Regions from separate parts of the Homo sapiens genome. Here regions 1, 2, 3 and 5 are each linked to region 4. Evidence: promoter capture Hi-C in 16 types of primary human blood cells and fetal thymus (Javierre and others, 2016). All regions are on one chromosome and are shown on one strand. The core of a region is centred on a gene start or on the middle of the fragment in contact, and the rest is flanking DNA. Distances in the headings are between cores, read along the strand shown. Region 1 has its middle 3.9 kb from the start of ASCL2. Region 2 has its middle 9.5 kb from the start of C11orf21. Region 3 holds the start of NUP98 (nucleoporin 98 and 96 precursor). Region 4 holds the start of NAP1L4 (nucleosome assembly protein 1 like 4). Region 5 holds the start of KCNQ1 (potassium voltage-gated channel subfamily Q member 1).

Region 1 (3,427 bases), core at 908-3,407, 730 kb before region 4:
TCTACCCACAGTGCCTTTTGTCTTTGAACTTGTCCCTTCCCTCCTTCCTCGCCCATCAGCGAGCAGGAGGTGGAGGGTGCTGGTGGAACAAGCCTGCGTCAAGGAGTGAAATCAGCTGATTTCATTTTTGTGCAGTTTCCACTGTTCTAGTAGCAAATGAAATAGAGACGCCTGTGCCAGGACAAAACACACACTGTGTCATTCCAGTGATTCCGCATAGAAGTTAAATGCTCTTATGCTTGCATTTTAAACTGGCATCACATAATATAAAGATGGATAACTACATTCACGCTAGTCACTTAAATTCCTAATCTTTCTTACTCAGAATGGCATTAAATAGTGAGTATAAAATAAGAAGTATAAAATAGTAAGTCAAGAGGTTGACTATAGAAGAAAGAAAAATGCTTTATATTTTAGCACCTTGAACATGACATCACGATCACCTTCTCCCTGGAATCAGTTTCTAACTTCCAGGTGGGGACTAGGCCTGGACCATGAGCTCCTAGCAGAGCCCTGCTGCCCCCACAGCAGAGCCCAGGACAGGCTGGCACCTGGGCCAGGTGAGGCTCTGTCCAGGCTCACTGATCTCAAATGCTGAACTGCTAAGGATGTCATGTCCCCAAAGGAGCCGCCAGGCTCAGCCTCACTTCCTGGAAGGCGTGAACATTGCAAGAATGTGGAAGTGAAAGAGTCCAGGGCTTAAATCTCAATTCTCATCATTTTCAAGCTGAGTCCAAGGGAGAGAAGACAGTCATGGATTCTTAGTTTCTGTTTCTGGTTGAGCCAGCAGGGTCCCTTCCTCATCCCTCTTTTCTGCTTATCACTAGAGACAGAAACTAAAACCATGACTTTAGGCTGCTGAGAGCCTAAAACAAAACGACAGCAAGAGAAGGTGGGTTGGACCAGCTTGCCTGTGACTTCAGGCACTTCATCTTTACTGGGCACTGGGTGAATGACAGTGTGGGGAGGGGTCTTCATAACACGGCAATCAGCAGCCCACTGTGCCCAGGAGACTCGCCTGTGGTCCTGGTTATCAACCACAGCCCTTTCCAGTCTCAAAAATGTCCCCGCTGGGACAGCAAGTTACATCGTCGCTACAAGTCCTGTCTCCTGGGAGATGCAGTCCAGCAGCACTACATCCTCTGAGCAGCAGGTGCCAAGTGGGATGAACTGGATAAGGACTGCATTCGGGGAAACGCCCGTGTGAAAGGAAATACACAGGAAGGAGGTGGCAACGGGTGGGAAGCCACTAGACCACGACGCGATTCTGCCCCAGTGAAGGCGAGGGGATAGCCTGGGCCTAGATCGCTGTGAGGTCTATGGAAGTTTCCACAAGCTTGCTGGGTAGTTCTCGAGGCAAACTCGGAAAGGGAGTCCCTTGTCTCCCTGGAACGGATCTTTCTTGGCATCTCTGTCACACTCATTAGGTGGGCCTGGTGTCAACCCCATTTGCAGGCCACCCCAAACTTGATCAAAGGTCCGCTTCTGGCACCCCATACCCTGTCCTACAGGAAATACAGGGACAGGCTCCCAATAACAACACCCAGCACGGTGCCATCAACACCACCACGCACACGGGGGCTCAACGGAACAGACATCTCCGCTTCTTCAATGAAGACACTGGAGGGAAATTGCTTACAAGGCGCTTAAGAGACCTATTAAGCAAACTTGATGTGTGGACCTGCGGCGGATCCCGATTCTATAAGGCCAACTGCACAAAACCACGAGACCCCCTGAGGACTGCGCCATTGGCTGGGTCCCCGATGATATGAAAGAACGGTGGTTCATTTGAGCGGGTGATGTTTTTGCGGTTTCCTTTAGAGGCACACGTGAAACATGACGGGTGAAAGGATTCAAAGTCTGGGATTTGCTTCAAAGCAACGCAGGGATGGCGTGGGGGATGGATGGGGCAGGAAGGGCCTTGAAACTGGTGCTGGAGGCTTCCCAGGGCTGCCCTGGAGCCCAGTGCGTCCTCCACCGGCCAGACTGTACAACGGTTGGATCCTGTGTCCACTGCTAGGACCCAGGCTCCACGAGCACGGGCTTGTGTGGCACACGGATGCACCCTAAGTCCTGGCACAGAGACTGCTCAACAAAGGCCTCGGTGCTTTTGTGTATGTTTGAAATTTTCCATAATAAAATGAAAAATGGGAAAATGGGAAAACAAAAATGGCAGCACTACTTACCCTCTGCAGAGTTTTGTCCGCTTCACGCCAGTGGGTGGCAGTCGTTTCCTCTGCCCTGGCCTTCCATCGTTTCCCCCCTACCCTCTTCACCCACCCAACAGCCCCCTGTGGTCCTGGCAGCTGTGGGCCTTTCCTTGAGGTCAAGGTGTGGAGTCCTGGGGAGGGCTCAGGGAGGCCACCGACCCGGGTGTGGATTCTGGGAGAAGCCTGTGGGATGTCCCTCCCTGGGTGACCACGGCAATGTGCCCCCTCCTGTCCCTTGGCCAAGGCCAGTTCCCTGAGCCCTGCAGCCCCAAGCCACAGCTGGTCCACTGACCCCAGTTGAGCCTGGTCCTCATCAGACCAGCTGACCCCTTTGACCCCCGCTACAGACTCGGCTTTGACCTTGGCTGCTGAGGAGCCCCCACCTGGACTGAGGCTGCAGCTGGCGAGAGAGGAGCCCTGAGCTCCTCTGATAAGAAGGGACCTGGCCAGCCTGACGTTTGAGACCCAGGCATCCCGGTAGCCTGGGTGTCCTGTTGCCGTGGTTATTCAGGAGCCACCCACTCTGGGACAACACCAGCTGCTCCCACCTCGCAGGGCTCCCACGGCTCTGTCCCAACCACTCCTTTCTGAAGGAAGGGGTGCCTCTGCGCCCTAAAGAAACCGGGGGAGCCCCACAACCCCTCCCCCACCAGGACACTAAAAGGCAGCTTTCGGTACAGTGAGACATCAAAGCCTCCTAGGCCCTGAGTCAAAGGTATAGCCGTGTAATATCCCAGTGCCAGCTCTCCGGCTGCGGGGAGCCTGGCGCAAAGCTTCCAAGCCTTCCTTGTTCCTTTCAAGAGCCGCTCTTAGAATTCAGGTGAGCGGAGACCTGCAGGGCCTCCCCAGTGCGGGCAAAACCCAAAGCTAGCGAGAGGGCAGCCTCCAGGCACCTCTCACTAACTCCTCCCAGAGGCCGTTGAGGTGGGTCTGGTCAAACCCATTTGCAAGTTAACCCACTTGCCCTGGGCTGCCCAGCTGCCACGTTAGTGGAGATCTGAGCGTGGTGGCCTGCGCAGGAGCCCATGCCCTCAGCCCCACAGCCGGTGCTCTCTGGTCAGACCACCTCAGCCTAGCCCCACACCCAGCACTTACCCCAGCCCTCGGGATGGGTCAGCAGCCTCCAGCCTGCAGCTTCCAAGCCAGCGAGTAGCCCTGTCTGGACAACCCACCAGCCCACCACCTCCTGGAGGATGCCCCCAGCCTCACAAGGTGTC
Region 2 (3,487 bases), core at 221-2,720, 700 kb before region 4:
TGCACAGCAGAGCGGCAAGGGCCCCTGGTGCGTTGAGCAAACTTCCAGGCTTAAAAAGAGCGTGGCTGCCTCATCCCTCCACCACCCAGAGCTGGCTCAGGCCACGTGTGACCCACCCTACCCTTAACAAGGCAGCTCCGGGAGTCCTGGAAGATGAACATCCCGCTCAGCTAGGGCGACACTGTGCCAATCCCTCCCATGGGCTTCCACCTGTACCTCTTGTTTTCTACACAGCTTTATTGAAATATAATTCACATACTATAAAATTCACTGTTTTAACTGTACCATTCAGGGGCTTTTAGTATATTCACAGAAGCATGCCTCCCTCAGCACCCCCAAAAACAACTCCCCGCTTTAGTATATTCGCAGAGGCGTGCCACCCGCAGCACCCCCAAAAACAACTCCCCACTTTATTCGCAGAGGCGTGCCTCCCGCAGCACCCCCAAAAACAACTCCCCGCTTTAGTATATTCGCAGAGGTGTGCCTCCCGCAGCACCCCCAAAAACAACTCCCCGCTTTAGTATATTCGCAGAGGTGTGCCTCCCGCAGCACCCCCAAAAACAATTCCCCGCTTTATTCACAGAGGCATGCCACCCGCAGCACCCCCAAAAACAACTCCCCGCTTTAGTATATTCAGAGGCGTGCCACCCGCAGCACCCCCAAAAACAACTCCCTGCTTCAGTATATTCACAGAGGCGTGCCTCCCGCAGCACCCCCAAAAACAACTCCCTGCTTTAGTATATTCAGAGGCGTGCCTCCCTCAGCACCCCCAAAAACAACTCCCCGCTTTAGTATATTCACAGAGGCGTGCCACCCGCAGCACCCCCAAAAACAACTCCCCGCTTCAGTATATTCACAGAGGCGTGCCACCCGCAGCACCCCCAAAAACAACTCCCCGCTTTATTCACAGAGGCGTGCCACCCGCAGCACCCCCAAAAACAACTCCCCACTTTATTCGCAGAGGTGTGCCTCCCGCAGCACCCCCAAAAACAACTCCCCGCTTTATTCACAGAGGCGTGCCACCCGCAGCACCCCCAAAAACAACTCCCCGCTTTAGTATATTCAGAGGCGTGCCACCCGCAGCACCCCCAAAAACAACTCCCCGCTTTAGTATATTCAGAGGCGTGCCACCCGCAGCACCCCCAAAAACAACTCCCTGCTTCAGTATATTCACAGAGGCGTGCCTCCCGCAGCACCCCCAAAAACAACTCCCTGCTTTAGTATATTCAGAGGCGTGCCTCCCTCAGCACCCCCAAAAACAACTCCCCGCTTTAGTATATTCACAGAGGCGTGCCACCCGCAGCACCCCCAAAAACAACTCCCCGCTTCAGTATATTCACAGAGGCGTGCCACCCGCAGCACCCCCAAAAACAACTCCCCGCTTTATTCACAGAGGCGTGCCACCCGCAGCACCCCCAAAAACAACTCCCCACTTTATTCGCAGAGGCGTGCCTCCCTCAGCACCCCCAAAAACAACTCCCCGCTTTAGTATATTCACAGAGGCGTGCCACCCGCAGCACCCCCAAAAACAACTCCCCGCTTTAGTATATTCAGAGGCGTGCCACCCGCAGCACCCCCAAAAACAACTCCCCGCTTTAGTATATTCAGAGGCGTGCCACCCGCAGCACCCCCAAAAACAACTCCCCGCTTTAGTATATTCGCAGAGGCGTGCCACCCGCAGCACCCCCAAAAACAACTCCCCGCTTTAGTATATTCAGAGGCGTGCCTCCCTCAGCACCCCCAAAAACAACTCCCCGCTTCAGTATATTCACAGAGGCGTGCCACCCGCAGCACCCCCAAAAACAACTCCCTACTTCAGTATATTCACAGAGGCGTGCCACCCGCAGCACCCCCAAAAACAACTCCCCGCTTTAGTATATTCACAGAGGCGTGCCTCCCTCAGCACCCCCAAAAACAACTCCCCGCTTTAGTATTTTCACAGAGGCGTGCCACCCGCAGCACCCCCAAAAACAACTCCCCACTCACTAGCAGCCGCTCCCCTTGCCCCAGCCTCTGCCAAACACTGACCCACTTCCCACCTCCATGGAGTTGCACGTTCTGGACATTTCATACAAATGGGGTCCTCTGATTCCCCACCCACAATTTTTAATCATACTTAACTTCCAAATAAAGACAAAGTCAAATCCCTCTTCCACCCAACAAGATGTGGCCAAGCGTATACAAGAGAACAGCATGTCCCCCTCTCCCCCAGAGAAGAGGAGAGCCCCTGATCCTGATTCATCTCTGGGTGTTCTTCCCCTTAAAAAAAAAAAAAAAAAATCAAAGGGGGAATAGGATTCAGCTGGAATGGGATTCAGCTGATTCTCATTCTCCCTTTGATATCCTAATTTTTTTTTTTTTTTTTTTTTTTTTTTTTTGAGACAGACTCTGTCAGCCAGGCTGGAGTGCAGTAGTGCAATCTCGGCTCACTGCAACCTCCACCTCCTGGGTTCAAGCAATTCTCCTGCCTCAGCCTCTCACATAGCTGGGATAACAGGCACGGGCCATCACGCCCGGCTAATTTTTGTATTTTTAGTAGAGACGGGGTTTCACCACATTGGCCAGGCTGGTCTCAAACTCCTGACCTCAGGTGATTCGCCTGCCTCAGCCTCCCAAAGTGCTAAGATTACATGCCTGAGCCACCGTGCCCAGCCTGATAGCCTAAAATTTAAACACTGAGATGTTTGAAATAATTAAATATCAACTACTATCAAACGTACACTTCATACACTAGTACCGTATGAAGTGGTAGGGAATGGAAGAGGAGAAGAAACAGTGGCTAATGTGGTCCTACCCAATACACTCGGATCAAAATAAGAAACACGCACACCTGTGATAGGCTTCGTTTCTGCAGCAGCCGAGCAGCGGGAACTAGCGTTTCAGCCTCCGTCTCCCGCATAGCCTTCGCCTCCGCAAGCACTCAGCTGATGTGGCTCTTTGCCTGGTGGGATGCCCTAAGCCTTCATTCCTGGAGAGCCTGGGTCCTGAATGACCCTGCTTGGATCAGGGGTGATGGTTTTCCATGATTTTAATCACAGGACATGGGAACCTTAAGAGGCGCTGCAGGGGACCCTCCGCATTCCAGACGTGCTCCTCCTCATCCTCCTTGTGCAACCCGGCCGATTCCGCCCGATAAAATCAGTCCCGTGGCCCGGGCAGTAACTGCCTTTTTTACCTATTGATTCTCTGCAGTGAGGATCCCAAAATGGCCTGGTGCAATCTCACCTTCCAGTCTGGTGGAGCCGTTGGTGTCTCTGCGGGAAACTCTCCTCCCTCGAGAACTCAGACTTCTACACCAAGAGGACCTAGAGTTGTGGGGACAGGGAGCAAACACATCACCAGCAGAATGTCATGAGGGTGAAGAGAAGCCATTGCCACTTCCCCTTCTGGACTCCCAGAACCGTGAGGTCTGGGCGGCAGGAGAAACCGCTCCATAGACTGACTCTAATTCAGAGCCTGGACCGCCTCCTGGAGGACACGGCCCTCT
Region 3 (3,559 bases), core at 686-3,185, 810 kb after region 4:
TATGTGGCAAGCAACTGGACAACAAAGATAAGATGAAAATATTTTACCAGCCTAATTAAAAAAACAGCTAAAATAAAAATGATATGTGCTATAAATAGAAATATCAAATAAGTGTTATGGAAGCTTGCAGAGAAGAGAATGCCAAGAAAAGCTTCCCAGAAGAGGGTGATGCCTGAACTGAGAAAATGTCACGGAAAACATACCCTGTTCACGCTTTACTATTTAGACTACGGTTCTCTTCTGCACTACTAGTTCTGAGTTTATGCTTTGTCATCTATACAAGAACAAAGTAACAATCTTACTGATGTGTACAGAACCAAGTGTCAACTAATTCAATTTCATCAAATCTGAAGAGTCAAAAAGAATAATTTTACCCAAGTATTTCCCAGTACCTTTATCCTGTCCAACCTCTAGTTTTGGTTTTTAAATACCCTAACTTCCTCCACCAGGTAAACATACTGTAACCCAGTTAACTCGAGTTTCTTTTCGAATTTGTAAGACCGTCACAGGGAATGATCACTGCTCTCTTTTTGCTCTTTATTCCAGTTAGCTTCTTCCTCCAAAACGGAGTTTTATTTCCTCACCTTATTCTACTATAATACTTCACTTTGAATTCTGTACCTGAAAGGAGCCATGAGTTCCGAGGTACAACTACTACAAACGGACTCCTACCTGGCTTTCTAAGTCTTATCAATATTTCCTGCTTTCTATTCCAGTACTGTTATAAATCCCTAACTGACTCCGAGTCCTCATCAGCTGACACAAGTCAAAAAATTCAGATTTAGAAAGGGAAACAATGGCTTGTAGTTTTACCGATTTGTTTCCGATACATAACAACGCTGACGTTCTTTAACCATCTTCTAAGTTTAGTTCTCAAGCTCTAGGTTAGGGTACCACTAACGAAGCTTCCACCTTACCCGTGAACAGAGCTGGTAGCAACTAAACGGAAAACGCTGTGAAGACTACATCTACGTTTAGCTACCTAATGTCCATGCCGCACCGACCTCCTAAAGGGAATTCTTAATAATGGGAGACTGAAATATCCAGGGAGGGTGAGGTAGTAGAAAACTGTTTAGACTGTCAAAAATCTGGCATTGGCTAATCCTGCCTGTTACTCCGGGCCTCGGTTTCCCCATCTACAAAACTGATGTAAGGTAGGGGGATTGACTTAAACAATTTCTAAAGTCCTTATGGCTATAGTAATCCAGAAACTCAATCTGTCTCCTCATCTGGCTTTACACTGAACACGTGGGAAAATAGAAAAGAACCTTTTGCTCCACCGAACCGACTCCTATTCTCAGATATTATCTTAAAAATCTCCCAAACTTCGGACTCACCCTAATCCTCGGGGTGCCCACTTCCCTTATGGAGAAGCCAAGGCAAATAAAGCCCAGTCCCACATGACGGTCAAGGAAGTGCGGGGCAGACCGTATTCAGGGTTTCAAGGCGCTGACCCCGGAAAGGCCAGCCCACCGTGGGGTCCTTACACCACTGAATGAATGAGTACAACCAGACAGACACCCACTCGCGTGGGCAGCAACTGGAGACCTCCAGGCCTAGACCCCACTGATGTCCATTCTCTCCCAGGGCCTCCAAAGCCGGGCCTCCCGGGCTCCGGGCCCCCGGGTCCTCAGCACCGCCCCTCTCTCAGGCCAGAAGGTGCGCGCAGCGGCGCTAGACTTCGAAGCGGAGAGGCCCTGAGACGCCCCGCGCGTCCGCCCGCCCGGAAGGGGGGAGAAACCTGCCGGTCTCGGCCGCTGCAGCTCGGGCTCCCGACTTACCGCGGTTCGGTGGGGAAGGGGAAGTGTCAGGAGTCCCCTGCTGCCACCCGCCGCTCACAGAGCAGCGCGCGGCCCCCACGAAACCGTCGCCGCCGCCGCTACCACCCCTGCCACCGACCGCCGCTTCGGGCGCAGCGCGCAGAGGGCCCGACTGCGTCACACGCCGCCCGGCGTCAGAGGCTCGTTGCGGACGCTCCGCCCTCGCCGTCCGCGAATTGGTGGACGCGGCCGCCACTCTGGGTCGACCCTGTTATTCATTGGGCAACGCGTCTTTTGAAACCGAACTGAAGGGGGAAGGGGCGAGAGGGAAGAGGAGGGGCAGAAGGAGTTCGGGGAGGCACAGGGTAGGAGCGGTGAGAGGGCCGTGGAGTCCCGCCCCTCGCCGCCGCGGTTGGCGGGAGCGTGTCGTGACGTCACACAGGGCCTCTCGAAGTGGGCTTGTGAATGGCTAGATTGGGAAGCACCGGCGGGGTGTCGGGAAGGGTGGTGACGCAACATAGAGACTCCGCCCCCTTCCTTGGAGCGCCGCGACTCGGGCTGAGGGAGCTCGGGCCAATCAGAGGGACGGCCCCAGAATGGCATGGTAACTATTCGACCCTTTCCTTGCCCCGGTCCGCCGGCGCTGCTGGGAAGGCTTCCTAGTCTCTCTGCCCGCACTTCCCGCCCAGACCACGTGCGGAGCCTGAGGGCCCTCTTGGAAGGTCTGTCTGTCCAAAGAGTTTGCCCGAGGCTTCTTCAGGGCCCTAAATCCTGACCCTATTCTCTCCTGACCCATGCTCGCCCCAGCACTTTCTTTCCCTCCCTGAATTTCTAGGATGGACATTAGGAGCATTAGAGATGCCCTAAGGGACTGGCCCACCAAAGGGCCTGGTACAAATGAGGATTGTTGGAACGTCTTTCCCAGCTGCACGTGGAGAACCCCTAATTCTTTTTTTTTCTTTTTCTTTTGAGATGAAGTCTCGCGTTGTCGCCTAGGGTGGAGTGCATTGGCGCAATCTCGGCTCACTGCAACCTCTGCCTCCCGGGTTCAAGCGATTCTCCCGCCTTAGCCTCCCAAGTAGCTGGGATTACAGGCGTCCGCCACCAGGCCCAGCTAATTTTTGTATTTATAGTAGAGACGGGGATTTCACTGTGTTGGTCAGGCTGGTCTCGAACTCCTGATCTCAAGTGATCCACCCGCCTCGGCCTCCCAAAGTGCTGGGATTACAGACGTGAGCCACCTCGCCCATGAACTAATTTTTTTTTTTTTTTTTGAGATGGAGTCTTGCTCTGTCTCCTCTTTCTCCCAGGCTGGAGTGCAGTGGCACGATCTCGGCTCACTGCAATCTCCGCCTCCCAGGTACAAGAGAGTCTCCTGTCGTAGCCTCCCGAGTAGCTGGGATTACAGGCACTCGCCGCCGCGCCCAGCTGATTTTGTATTTTTAGTAGAGATGGGGTTTCACCATGTTGGCCAGGCTGGTCTCGAACTCCGGAACTCAGGTGATCCGCCCGCCTCGGCCTCCCACAGTGCTGGCCTTACAGGCGTGAGCCACCGCGCCCAGCCGAACCCCTACTTATTCTTAAAGGACGGGTATTTCAAATGTTCCCATCTTCTCAGTGATACATTTGCCAAGCTTTCACAGCGAGTTGAGCTAATGCTTGGGCAGGCCTCTGTTAAAGCCTTGTCACTTTGTATCCTATTATTTACCCTCGGTTTTCTGTGCCTTGGGCTCTTCTTGGAAGTCCTTCTGGGGCCTAGCCCATTAGCAGAAAACTGATATTACAAGAGTGAAAGGTGG
Region 4 (3,328 bases), core at 607-3,106:
CCAGTCTGAATCTCAAAATTCTACTATAGGAGGCATTTGGCATTCTGTGGAATAAGAGAATTTTGAGATGGAAATGATCAACCAGCTCAAAACCTCGTAAGCTAGAGTTCAGTTAAGCTTAGCACAATGATGAAAACAATTTCTCATTAAAACTTCTTTCATTCCCTCTACAGAAGCAGTAACCCTGGGTACAGTTAAAACTGCCTGGGTCTTTAAGCTTTGTCACCTCGGACAAGTCATTATACCTAACCTCCCAGGGCCTCAGCTTCCAGAGTAGTTAAATGGAAAAACAATAGCATCTATCTCAGGTTATTAGATTATGAAATGAGTTAACACACGCAAACAGGCTGAAAGAGTCCCTGGTGCGCAGTGCAGGTATTAGTCATTTAGAGGTATAGTTACTATTACAGGAAGGTAGTAACTTAGAAAGACTTACCTTTAAGGTCCAACAACCTAATCTACATATTTGTATATTTCTAAGGTAAGAGAATTTTTAAAAGTCTATTTTCACCCCGTAAACCTAATGCAGGAGGATAAGGCACGGGTTACTACAGGAAAAAGTAATGCAGACTGGGGGATGCGAACCAAAGCACAGACGAATGTGCCCCGACGATTCCTCCGAGAACATAATGAAATGGCGGACCTTCCTGCCAGAGGAGCGCACAGTCACCCAGGCAGGTGATGTGACACACACGTTAGGGTCTAAAGGTCCCAAGGCTGGAGTCCCCTTTACTGGACCCTAAACATGTCTGCCTCCTGCCCCGCAATCAGACTTAGAGAACTGTGGACGGTGGAAAGTCTTATCATGACCAGGCCATCCTTCGCTGGGGTGAACGGAAAGCATTCAGAAGGGGAAAATTGAAAACAACAAAGACTCTGGTCAGGTCAAAAAATACAAATGTGACCTCTTCCACCATCTCTGAACTGAAAGAAAAGCATGGCACTTTCCCATCCATAACATGTACAATTTTTTTTTTTGGAGATTTTGCTTTTCCCTTGTGAAAGACGGTTTTAAATAGTAAACAGACTTGCTGCCCACCTTGGCTGGGAAACCAAGTCCCGTGAGTAACTAGTCTAAGGCCACTCAGGCCAGTCCTCGGGGAGCGCACGCCGCCCAGCTCGCTCCCACCGCACAGCTCCCAACAGCTAAGAAGCAACGCCAAGGACTTTCTTCCCCGTCAGACATGCCCTCGGCCACACCAAACTGACATCAAAACCCCAGTTAGCCCAGCCTGACCCCACAGAGGCTCACGATGACAACCGCCCTACGGAAAAACTCAAATTCCTAAACATCTAATAAAGAAGTCCTGGACGTCTCCACCTTAAAAACGGGAAGCCTGAACGCTCCGGCGCGCCCGGCCGTGTAACCGCCACAGCCCCCGCACGCGGGGCGGGCTGGGCTAGCGGGAGATTTGAGCGGCCGCCGCCTCTCGCCGTCTTCGCCTCCTCCAAGGGGCCGCCGCCCAGGAGGCCGCCCGCGGCGCAGAACAAAGCGCCTTGACCTTCAGTGAGGCGGGCAGCCGGGCGAGGCGCGCCGGGAGTTGGGAGGGGCCTCCCGCCAGCGCCCCAGGCCCGGGCTCCAGGCCCCAAGCCCCAGGCCCCGCCGCGGCCGCCGCTGCCTGCCCCGACCAGAACGCGGCCCCGCCCCTGCCCCACCGCCCCGAGGCTTCCAGAGATGGCCGCCGCCGCGCCCGCGCCGGACCCGCGGCCCCACCCGCCCGTCCGGGCCCGGCCGCCCTCCCCAGCGCGCCGTTACCGGCCCAGCACCCGTGTCTCCGCACCTCACGCCTCCTGCGGCAGTGGCGGCGACCCTAGCTTCGCTCGCTTTGGGGCTGCGCCGCCGTGGCCTCCAACAACGCCGGCTCCCATTGGCCGAGGCTCCTAGCTCCTCTCTCCGCGAGCAAGACAGGCTGCGATTCGCCGAGCGCGGCGCAAGTCAACTGCGCTTCGCGCCGCAGTCAGCAACCAATCACAAGCCTCCGAAGAAACGCCGCGCCATATGCAAATATTCCTCCGCGCGGCGCGCGCCCTGCGTTCCTCCGCCTCTTTAAATGGGGCGGGGCAAGGTGGAGACCGCGTGTGTGGTTCCGGGGGGTCCCGGGTCCCCGCTCCCGGGACCTTCCCCGGGTGGCACCACATCCTCGCGGGACACTGGGCACCACCCCTCTCCGTGGGCCCCGGCCCCAGCCGTCTTTATCTCCTGCGCCCTCCCAGTTCCCTAGTTCAATCCCGTCCGCGGCGGGTCGGTGCCTCCAGCACTCCGTGCGCCCGCTGATGTGAGAACCCCACCTCCCATGTCGTCCCCTCGCGCTACTCCTTGAGAACATCGCGGAGGGCCCCTCCGCCTGGGAGCCGTTTTCAACCAGCCCCGTTAGTGGTTGGGACGTAAGCCTAACCCCCGCTCATCCCCCAGGTCCCAGGTTGGAGAACACTTCCTCTGCGAAGAGGTCGGGGCTGGGTCACCTCCGCGGACAGGACGGGACTAGCCACTGCCTGCATCTCTTCCCCCACGCCCTGAGCCCCGCAGTGTCCCAGCAGCCTAGTTCTGGCCTGCGGGAGACCCTGTCGGACAAGGAGGAAAAGCAGTGCGCACTGGGCCCTCAGATCAGCCCCCTGAAGCAGAGCAGGGCAGAGGGCTGGGGAGGAGCTGGCCTGTTTCGCCCGCCCTGTTCTCCCTCTCATGGTGCCCTCTGGGCTGGGGTGAAGGTACCAGCCCCAGCCTGTGCACATCACATTTTGTAGAAAGGCATCCAATTTGATTGGAAAATAACCCCTACGCTGGGACTTTTGAGGCTGGTTCATTTCCATGTTCAACCGTGCCATTGGGGGTCTTCAAGTCTAATGTGCATTTTTTTCAGAAACGTTCTCTTTTGGGATGACGTTACTTTTGAAACAATTGCTAATTATTATTATTATTAGCAAGTTATTCCTGTAATGGGGAAAATTTGAAACCATTTAAAGGCTCCTGGTTGAGGGATTAAGAACATAGCGTCGGTTATAAACCTCAGAGGTAAGCTGGGAGGCTGAGGCAGGAGGATTCCTTGAGCCCAGAAATTCAAGTCCAGCCTGGGCAACATAGTGAAACCTCATCTCTAAAAAGAAATTAATGCGGAGCGCCGTGGCTCAGGCCTGTAAACCCAGCACTCTGGGAGGCAGAGGCAACAAGTCCAGCCTGGGCAACATAGAGCACCCTTCCCCTGCTCCAAAAACAACAACAACAAAAAATTACCCAGGCGTGGTGGCTCAGGCCTGTAATACCAGCTACTTGGGAGGCTGAGGTGGGAGAATTACCTGAGCCCGTGAGGTCAAGGCTGCAGTGAGCAGAGAT
Region 5 (3,430 bases), core at 674-3,173, 550 kb before region 4:
AGTTGGAAATGTTTTCCCGATTCACAGGTTCTTGAGGAATTGACCTGTACATTCTTGTAGAATTTGCATGGCTTCATCTCACCCTTTACACTTGAGCCTCTGATTCATTTGAGATTTATTCTCGTGTGCGGTGAGATGGACCCAAGGTATGCTTTTTCTTTCTTTATGACTGTCCAGTTGTCCAAACGCTGCTTATTCAAAGCTCACCTTCCTCCTGCTGAGGTGGGAGGGGAAGGCAGAGACTCCATGCAGGTGTATGTATGTTCACCCGGAAAGTAACTGCTGAATGCGTGCTGTGTGCCCTGCAGAGCTGACTGACTGCCCCCATCTTCTGACCCGCTGCCCTTCTGCACCTTCACTGATATGCTTCCCAGGAAGGTACCCTCTCCTCGGCCTCCCTTGTGTTATCACAGCGCCCAGCACAAGCTGGGACCCACTCCATCCACTCTTGCTGCAAATACAGACTGTGCACTCCTGTGTGGCACCTCACTAGGGTGGGGAGTCAGGCGTCAAGGGCCTGGGCTGGACTCCGTCCACGATAAAAGAGCAGACTTTTGGCAGGGGGTGGTAGATACATCAAATTGACCCAGGGTGCTCAGGGACGACCTGGAAGTGTCACATGAGTTATGGGTCTCCTGGCGGGGCGGAGAGTCACCGCTGAGCTCCACCTTTAGTCCCTGCCTCAGGGCTGTGTGCAGTATCCTGAAAAAAGCCGGTCTCTTCTGTTGGCTGCCCCCCACCCCCCCCCCAAGCCTGAGACGTGCTGAGACCCAAATGCCAGTAGCGGGCGGGAGGCAGTGCAGAGACCTGTGAAAATCTTCCGATGTGACCAACCCACCCCCACCCAGGGGAATCCACGGGGCGCAGCGGCAGCGCGGTCTCGACGGTGGGGAGGACAAGGCGCCCATTCTCCAAGTTACTAGGGTGGCGCAAGCGCCTCTCCCTTTAACTGCCCAGGCAGCCCCGCCTGCTATGCCCGGCAGTCAAACCAGGTCCAGACCCCGGCTGTGCCGCCCCCACCCCCCAGCAGCCCTGCCGGCTCCCCACCCACACAGCTCCCACTGGGAGGTACCTGACAGTGGTGGTCCCATCTCACCCTCCCGGTCCAAGGGCCCTGGTGGGAAGCGACCCGAGCGTATTCGCCGCCCGCAGCTCGCGCGCCTGGGCACCCGGGGGCGCTCACAGTGATCGCGGGGCCAGCACACCCTCACCCAGGACATCCCTTTCCTCCCCCCAACCCCAACTCCGGAGTGGCTCAGAGGGAGGGAAAGTAGATGCCGGCACCCTACCCCGCCCCTCCTGCCCCCGCTGTGCCGTTCTCGGTCGTGGTATCGGCCAGGCCTTACCCCTTCCTCCCTGGCGCAGCTGGGGTCCTCCTCCGGGCCAGGCAGAGCAGGCGGGCATCAGAAGTGGGGGCCAAGCAGGTGGGTGAGGGCAGGGCAGGAGCAAGCAGGGGAGATGCAGACGGGGCGGGGCCAAGCAGGTGGGTGAGGGCGGGGCCAAGCAGGTGGGCGGGGAGGGGGCGGGGCCAGGCGGGGTAAATGCACACTGGAACGGGGCCAAACAGGTGGGCGAGGAGGGGGCGGGGCCAAGCGGGATAGATGACACGAGCGGGGCTAAGCAGGTGGGCTCGGGCGGGGGTGGGGGTGGGGGCGGGGGCGCAGGCGGGGGCGGGGGCGCGGACAGGCCAAGCCAGGGGGTGAGGCGGAGGCAGGGCCAGGCCGGTCCGTGGGGAGAGGGCGGGCCAAGCCGGTGGGCGCGGGCAGGGACGCCCTGTGCGCGCCGGACCGGCGGGGGCGGGGCGTGCAGGCGGGGGCGGGGCACGCCGTCCCATGGGACCGGCCCTCGGCCACTGCCCCCTCCGGCCCCGCCCCGAGCGCCCGGGCTGGGCCGGCAGCGGCCCCCCGCGGCGGGGCTGGCAGCAGTGGCTGCCCGCACTGCGCCCGGGCGCTCGCCTTCGCTGCAGCTCCCGGTGCCGCCGCTCGGGCCGGCCCCCCGGCAGGCCCTCCTCGTTATGGCCGCGGCCTCCTCCCCGCCCAGGGCCGAGAGGAAGCGCTGGGGTTGGGGCCGCCTGCCAGGCGCCCGGCGGGGCAGCGCGGGCCTGGCCAAGAAGTGCCCCTTCTCGCTGGAGCTGGCGGAGGGCGGCCCGGCGGGCGGCGCGCTCTACGCGCCCATCGCGCCCGGCGCCCCAGGTCCCGCGCCCCCTGCGTCCCCGGCCGCGCCCGCCGCGCCCCCAGTTGCCTCCGACCTTGGCCCGCGGCCGCCGGTGAGCCTAGACCCGCGCGTCTCCATCTACAGCACGCGCCGCCCGGTGTTGGCGCGCACCCACGTCCAGGGCCGCGTCTACAACTTCCTCGAGCGTCCCACCGGCTGGAAATGCTTCGTTTACCACTTCGCCGTGTGAGTATCGCCACCGGCGACGGCCGGCACGAAGGTGCTTCCTGAGAGCTGGTGTGGGGGAGCTCTGTCCCAGCGCCACCTGCCCCGTCGGAGCTGCGACCCCGGAGCAGAGGAGGGAAGGAAGTGGGGAAACGCAGAAACACAAACTCTGCACTCTCCCTTGAAGTTCAGAGGCGCTGCTGTGTCTGGGGGTGCGCATCTTCTCGCAGGCCCGGCGTGGGGAGGGAGCCGGCTGGGGAGGGGACCACCTGGAGCCCAGAATTTGGCTCCACACCTCCGGGAGGGTAGTCCAGGTGTGAATCCTTCTGGGAAGAGAAGCGTGCTGGGGAGCGCACCCTTGGGTGCAGTAAGATAACTCCTCAAGGTCGGCTGAGACTCGAGGCTCAGGAGCCCCCAAGAGAGAAGGCCCCTGATGTCCGGTGCCGCATCTCAGACCCCCTGAGGCCCAGGTGGACTCTGGGGCAGGGGGCTGTCCAGGATAGGAAGGTGACGGTGGCGGTGCTCCCTGAGGGCTCAGCATGCCACGGGCCGTCCCCACGGGCCCCACATTAACTAATTGAACCAAGCTCATGAAAACCTGGCTTGATGCAGAGAGCGGAGAGGCACGTTTGCAGCTCTCACTAAGAGGCAGCTGTGCTCCCGGAGAAAGCAGCGCTGGTAGCAGAGGCACCTGGCCCCCCTGTTACCAGGTGGTTCCAATTCCCGGTACAGCGTGCCTGAGCAGGGCTGGGCACTGGATTTCTCAGGGACAGGCCTGGGAAGTCACCTCCGGGAAGGTCCAGGCTGCTCTCCTCCATGCCTGCCTGGGGCCTTCCCCCGCTGCCCCAGTGGCCCTACTTCCTGGCTGCCCAGCCAGCGGCCTTTTGGTGTGGTGCCAGCCTCTGGCCTGGGAGCCTCTACCCAGACATCCCATGGCTGATGGCTGTGGGGCTCACCTGAGGGCTGAAGGGTGGTCTCCCTGAGCGTCCTCAGGTGGAAGCATCTCCTCTGCCTCGGGCAGGCTCAGTAGAGAACTGGCTGGAGGGCATCC

What was found. Contacts are between HindIII fragments. The CHiCAGO score rates a contact against its expected background, and 5 or more counts as called.
Region 1: a contact is called between a fragment that was not itself captured here and the fragment with the promoter of NAP1L4 in region 4, in 1 of 17 cell types (neutrophils). The highest score is 5.7, in neutrophils.
Region 2: a contact is called between a fragment that was not itself captured here and the fragment with the promoter of NAP1L4 in region 4, in 1 of 17 cell types (monocytes). The highest score is 5.2, in monocytes.
Region 3: a contact is called between the fragment with the promoter of NUP98 here and the fragment with the promoter of NAP1L4 in region 4, in 1 of 17 cell types (activated CD4 T cells). The highest score is 5.1, in activated CD4 T cells.
Region 5: a contact is called between the fragment with the promoter of KCNQ1 here and the fragment with the promoter of NAP1L4 in region 4, in 3 of 17 cell types (activated CD4 T cells, neutrophils and non-activated CD4 T cells). The highest score is 7.7, in activated CD4 T cells.

What each region holds. Positions count from the first base shown.
Region 1 is chr11:2,264,929-2,268,355 of GRCh38, forward strand. No RefSeq gene overlaps it. Among named protein-coding and RNA genes, the nearest start is that of ASCL2, 3.9 kb to the right of the region's middle. The HindIII fragment of the contact is 1,647 bases long and covers 1,335-2,981 here.
Region 2 is chr11:2,290,695-2,294,181 of GRCh38, forward strand. No RefSeq gene overlaps it. Among named protein-coding and RNA genes, the nearest start is that of C11orf21, 9.5 kb to the right of the region's middle. The HindIII fragment of the contact is 7,512 bases long and covers 1-3,487 here.
Region 3 is chr11:3,795,619-3,799,177 of GRCh38, forward strand. It overlaps NUP98 (nucleoporin 98 and 96 precursor), which reads right to left and starts at 1,936. Exons shown (of 33, transcript NM_016320.5): 1 at 1,782-1,936. It also overlaps a transcript of PGAP2 not described here. RefSeq lists silencers at 1,613-1,702, 1,783-1,952. The HindIII fragment of the contact is 2,489 bases long and covers 904-3,392 here.
Region 4 is chr11:2,990,473-2,993,800 of GRCh38, forward strand. It overlaps NAP1L4 (nucleosome assembly protein 1 like 4), which reads right to left and starts at 1,857. Exons shown (of 16, transcript NM_005969.4): 1 at 1,782-1,857. RefSeq lists enhancers at 426-1,282, 1,827-2,121. The HindIII fragment of the contact is 4,981 bases long and covers 216-3,328 here.
Region 5 is chr11:2,443,085-2,446,514 of GRCh38, forward strand. KCNQ1 (potassium voltage-gated channel subfamily Q member 1) reads left to right here and starts at 1,924. Exons shown (of 16, transcript NM_000218.3): 1 at 1,924-2,400. The coding sequence starts at 2,015. TRPM5 (transient receptor potential cation channel subfamily M member 5) reads right to left here and starts at 1,430. Exons shown (of 29, transcript NM_014555.4): 1 at 1,347-1,430. RefSeq lists silencers at 1,724-1,833, 1,844-1,913. The HindIII fragment of the contact is 13,739 bases long and covers 1-3,430 here.